2 separate regions of the Homo sapiens genome follow, and region 2 is linked to region 1. Evidence: promoter capture Hi-C in human tissues and cell types (Jung and others, 2019). All regions are on one chromosome and are shown on one strand. Each heading gives the region's core, a stretch centred on a gene start or on the middle of the fragment in contact. The rest is flanking DNA. Distances are from core to core; before and after follow the strand shown. Region 1 holds the start of LRTM2 (leucine rich repeat transmembrane protein 2). Region 2 holds the start of ADIPOR2 (adiponectin receptor 2).

What was found. Contacts are between HindIII fragments. The study calls those that stand out against the background at their distance.
Region 2: a contact is called between the fragment with the promoter of ADIPOR2 here and the fragment with the promoter of LRTM2 in region 1, in 2 of the 25 tissues and cell types used here (mesendoderm cells and pancreas).

Annotation. Positions count from the first base shown.
Region 1 is chr12:1,819,163-1,821,892 of GRCh38, reverse strand. LRTM2 (leucine rich repeat transmembrane protein 2) reads right to left here and starts at 1,328. Exons shown (of 5, transcript NM_001039029.3): 1 at 1,079-1,328. All of the region lies in intron 26 of CACNA2D4 (calcium voltage-gated channel auxiliary subunit alpha2delta 4), which reads left to right. RefSeq lists an enhancer at 1,012-1,758. The HindIII fragment of the contact is 8,239 bases long and covers 1-2,730 here.
Region 2 is chr12:1,689,714-1,692,443 of GRCh38, reverse strand. ADIPOR2 (adiponectin receptor 2) reads right to left here and starts at 1,374. Exons shown (of 8, transcript NM_024551.3): 1 at 1,253-1,374. RefSeq lists silencers at 1,072-1,161, 1,182-1,481 and enhancers at 980-1,558, 1,642-1,691, 1,712-1,871. The HindIII fragment of the contact is 10,259 bases long and covers 197-2,730 here.

The DNA.
Region 1 (2,730 bases), core at 79-2,578:
AGTAGCCCTGACAGCCGGGTGCCAACACCCCCCAGAAATGTGGACAGCTTGGGGGTGGGGGAGAGACAGGGCCGCCAACTGGAACCCAGCCCCAGACCTGCAGGGAGGTGCAGGAATGTGAACTTCCGACTCCTGGTCAGGCTGCTCCTCTCTCCAGCACTGTCCAAATGGGTCTGGGGGATTGAGAGCAACTGTCCCGCTCTACTCAGGGTGTCCATGCCCCCTGTGTGGGTCAAGAAGCCAGGCAGGCCTGGCCCCGCTGTGTACCCCCCACCCAAGCTCAGTGTCCAGCCCCCACTAAGGCTCCCTGACCCATTTGCAGATGGACGGCTGGGTGCACAGCTGCGGGACACCCCAGCAGGTTCTCGCGGGCCTGGTTCTCCTGTCTTGCCCTTGGGCTAGCAGGGAAGGGCTGCGATACTTCTCTCTCCTGCCCACTCCCAGCCTCACCCTCACCAGGGAGGCTTCATGCACAGCTGAGTGGGCCCATGCTCATCTGGGGGAGGGTTCCTCCACACCCTTGTCCAAGGACAGCCACCTGCAGGCAAGCTATAGGGAGGCCCAGGACCTGGGTCTGTGCCCATGCCTCTGACATCCAGGACCTCCTCCCTGCCACCCTCCACCCCAAGCCTTCCTCTGACCTGGCCCTGTCCCCAGCACCTGACTGCCATCCCAACCGCTTCCCATGACCCCCGAGTTTCTTGGGGCTGTCTGTGCAGAGCCGGGCACAACGACAGCACAAGGCTCTTGGCTGCTTCTCCCATGCTGCAGGGACCGGTTTCTATGCCACCCGGGACTGTCATCTGGCGCCAGCGCTGCCCTCCTCCCCACTTCCCAGCAGAATCCACAGCTCTTGTCCCCAGCACTGTGGGCTCAGAGTTCCCAGTGTCGTGCACCTTTGGGATGCTCAGGTGCCTGAGCCCGAGCAGCTTCTTCGGCCCCAGCAATTGCCTGCAGGTAGGAAGCAACTGCAGCTATTCCTGCAGGGCAGAGATGGCCGGTGCCCACTTCCCATGCCCCGACCACCCCCTGTCCCCACCAACCCTCCATTCCTTCCTACCAGCCACTCGGTACTCACCCGTCTTTACTCTGACTGCAAACGCCTTCAATCAGGTGGCTCTCAACCCTCCAGTAAGACCCTCCTGGGATTCCTATAGAAATCCAGACACCACCGGCAGGCAGAGCGCAGTGGGCACTGGTGCCAGAGTCTCCACTCAGCGGGAGCAGCGGCTGGCACGCAGCACACAGCACCAGGAGGTGGACTGCTTGTGGCAGACGGGGGACGGGGCTGCTGGGTCAGTCACAAACTGAGAAGGAAAGAGAGGGATGGAGGGAGAGAGAGAGAGGAGAGAGGGAAGAAAGGGGCGAGGGAGGAGAGCGCACGCGTGTGCGCGAGCAGCGAGCCAGAGTGGAGCGGGGAGTGACAGCTGGGGTGCATCTGTGATGACAGCGGCAGCAGCACACACAGGCGCACACCAGAGGCACCACGGCCGGCCGCGAGGGCAGCGCTCACCCTGGCCACGCTCACATTTCAGTGGAAAAAGGCGCCTGTGGATGAATCGCTGCCGACCACAGGGAGGAGGAAAGCGGTTTCACCACCACCTCCATCTTCCATCCTGCGCCTCCAGGCTCTCCCTCACCCCCCCGGCTGCACCTGTCTTCTGTGCCTCTCTCCTCTCTTCCCCTCCATCTGGGGAAAGAGGGACAGGCGCAGACACAGAGCAAGCGGCTGACTTCTGTTCCGATGGAGGCCCCCCTGGGAAGCTGGTCTTTCTCCTGTTTTAGAGACATGCGAGGCAGAGTCTCCCATCCTGCCTGAGAGAAGGAAAAACCGAACCCTTCTCTCGGTCATACGAAAGAAGGGTACACAGGCATGTCCATGTGCCAGATGACCCTACAGGAAAGGGCCCTGAGCCCCCACAAAGCCAGGGATCACATGGTCATGCAGAGGTCACTGAGCCTCAGGGTCTGACCACCCGACGCCAGGACTACTTAGGGAAGCAGAATGCCAGAGTTGGCAGGCTGGGAGTTTGGGCACAGGGCAGCCTGCAGCAGCAGCCTGCAGACCGTTCTCAGTGCCAGGGACGAGCTTGGCTTCTCAGGGCTCCTTGCTCTTATCTGTGATGGGTCAGGCATGCGAAGGGAAGAGACTGTCATTCAAGAACTTGGAGGCCTCTTTCTTAACCAATCAGGACAAAGCAAGTCAGAAAAATTGATATCCTAAGAGATGGGAAGTGGCTGATCTGAAGGCCAAGTGAGTCAGGGACCAAGCTAGAGGGGAGCCAGGGCCCCACCAGCCTGGAGCACGAACCCTAAATCCCCCTTCCTTTGCGTCCACTGCCTGTAGACAGATGAAGCACCGTGCTAGCGATATATCACCGTGTCCTATGTCCCTCTTCCATTTTGCCTGCTTTGCTGGAGGGGTTCACAGCCAGGACTGGGGTGGGTGTAGAAGAACCCCCTGGACTCAGGATGCCCCTAGAAGGATGCTCCTGCTCACTCCCTTCTGTCCGTTCTGCCGGGTCCCCGGGCAGCACAAGGCTTGAGCTGCAGTGTCTTTTACCTCTGGGGAGTCCCGCCTCTGACCTCTCATGCTGGTGCCTCCCACACATCCCACTGTCAAGCAAAAGAGGCTCCCACCTCCCCATAAACATACTTCCTGCTTCTCCATCTCCATGAAAGCGTGTTCTTCCCTGGGCCTGAAATGCTCTCCTGCCCATGGGTGGCTTC
Region 2 (2,730 bases), core at 125-2,624, 130 kb after region 1:
ACATGTGTGGAAATCTTTACTGATGAAATAATTTTAGTTGCAGATCATCACAATCAACACTCTGACAACAAATTTATCAGAACGGATGAAAACATCTAGGAATTACCTAAGAGTCGTTTAAGGAGACATAAGGGTGGCCTTTGATAAGAGGTCACTTCAAACTTTCAGAACTGACAAGACGTATAGCCTCCCCCCAAAAAATAATGCTATGGGTAGATGGATGCTTTTTTCTGAAGGAATTTTTAGCATTTCATTTGGAAAAGTTCTGTGATCAAATAATGCTAAATGTTATGACAGCTTTCTTGGCGTTTAAAGGGATTCTCTGGGTGAGGGGAAGGGGTGATAAAAAAAAAAAAAGTCTGCTTTTGGAACAGAAATGGGGGACAATAACCAAGGCTCAGAAACCCAGAGTCAAAAAATTAAAAGAACATCTTATTTTAAAAAAAAAGTCAACAACCTGCAATGAAGTCACCGTACCCCCATAAAATCCCAACTGTGCATTTAAATCTTTCTACCAAAATTCACTTTTGGACCATCTTATGAAGTTGTCAAAATTTCAGAGGCAAACGCTTAAATCAAGATCAAAAGCCAGGAGGAAAAAAGAGCTAACAGTTTCCAACCCAAACTCTCTCCGAGCCCCCTAAAAACTGATTTATAACCCTGTCATCGGTAATTTTAGAAGAAGCGAACACTGACGGACGGGGGCTTGGGAAAACAGGACTCCAGGTACCAAGCAGGCTGCCTGACGCGCCACCTGAAAAAGGTGAGGGAACTCTTCCCCACCCCAGTCACTGTGAAAGTAGCGCTGAGAGAGCCCATCCCAAGCCTCCACCAAACAAATTCCTAGAAGTGATAAAAACAGACAAGAGACGAAGAGGGGCGGGCAGATCCTCTCCGCGGGCAGGGAGCTGGAGCAACTGCACCCGAAGGTGAGCAGAGGGCAGCAGGCTCCGACCCTCCGCCGCGAAAGGCGAGGCGAGGGGAACAGCGGGCGCCGGACTCCTCCGACAGCGGTCGCAAGGAGGGCGGCTCCAGGTCCCCACACGGCCGACCCTCAGGCCAAGGCGCGCCGGGCGGCAGGTCAGAGTTAGGAATCAAGTTGCGGGCCGGGCCGAGAGCGCGCTCTCCCGCCCGCGCCAGGGACATTCGCCCCTCAGCTCTCACCTCCCCCCGACCCCAAGCTCTCCCTCTGCGCCCAGGAAACGGCGCCCACACTCCAGAGACCCTCACCCGGAGCCCGTCGCCGCCTCACCGCGTGTCTCGGACTTCTTGGGAGCCACCGCTGAGGGGAGGGGGGAGGAGGGGGGAACGGAGGAGGGAGGGGGCCAAGCCCGGTGTAGCCGCCGCCGCTGCCGCCGCCGCGATGCCGCTTCTGGAATCGCGCTCTCGCCGCCGCGACAGCGACCGCCGCCGCCGCGTCTCCCCGCCCCCACGACCGCACGTCGCCGTGACGCGCATCGCACGAGGCGGTTCGAGCCAATAAGACCACACGCCGTGCGCAGCCGCGCTGTCCTAAACCGGAAGCCGCCCCTCTGACCGCTCTAAAACCTGGGTGCATCGTGGGAGCTGTGGTTCGGCCAGGAACTTAGCGAAAACTATACTGGGTGTTGAGGGCCGGAGGAGCGTGCGCTCCTTAGGCGCTCACACAACTCCTCGGAGTTTTTTCTCCCACCGAAAAAGGAAGCAATTTGGAGCTGAGGAGGAGGGGGCCGCCCCGGCTCGCGGATGCTTTTCGCAGTCTCTATGGATACTGGCTACACACTTTGGGCAAGAGCCAGAATTTGAGGATTTAGGCTGGATCGTGTGTCTCTGCCAAGGGCTGATAGGATGCTGAGCGTCGTCTGTGAAGACTGCGGAAAGAAATCCAAAAGCATTAGCCCAGTTTTGCCCAGAGCAATAGTGTTTGCCTTTTATTACCTTATTAAAGATTATGATTTATGCTCTACCACTTCTATTTTTTTTAAAACCCAGTCACTCTTAAAATACATATAATTCAGAGCGATTTTTAAAATGATGTTAATGTAATGGTATATCAGAACCTACTTAAGCACTAAATACCTGCGTCCATTTACCCAGAATGAGTAAGTAATTTTCCACAAGTCATCTTTACGTTGAGTTCTAACTTCTTAGAAGCCAAGAACAGATTTGGTTACGTACTTATTCTATAAGAAAAGTGAATATAAGAGTTAGTCTGCGTAGAAAAATAGTTCTTTACATTCAGTAGGAGGGGGAATTTATCACATTCTTAAGGCGTAAATGCCTTAACTATCAAAATTCTTGTTATTGACTAAAGGAAATCCATACGATTTAGGGAAAGTCTGTGCCCACGGCTTACTGTCCTTACCTTTGGACCACAGCAAGAGATAACAAAGGGTGCAGGGAAAAGCTGACAGGTCTTGAGGGAGCTGGAGTCGGATATATGACGAAAAAAACAAAAATACAGAAGTCTTCATTATGGAAATGTAAGTTTTAAAAAGTAAAGCTACTAAAATCACAAAGAACATGATTAAGATGGCAATAATACAGAACTAAGGCCCACTCATTTAAGCTTGAAAGAGATAAAACTAGTAGAAATTAAAATTAGGAAATAAATGTTAAAGGAACTAATTTCCTCCAAGGAGTGGTTTACATTGAAAATATAATTTTTTTAAGTTTACATAATTTGTGAAAGACATAATAATAATGACTTCTATGTTCCCAGGTAAAGATGTAAAGCTTTTGAGGTTGAAA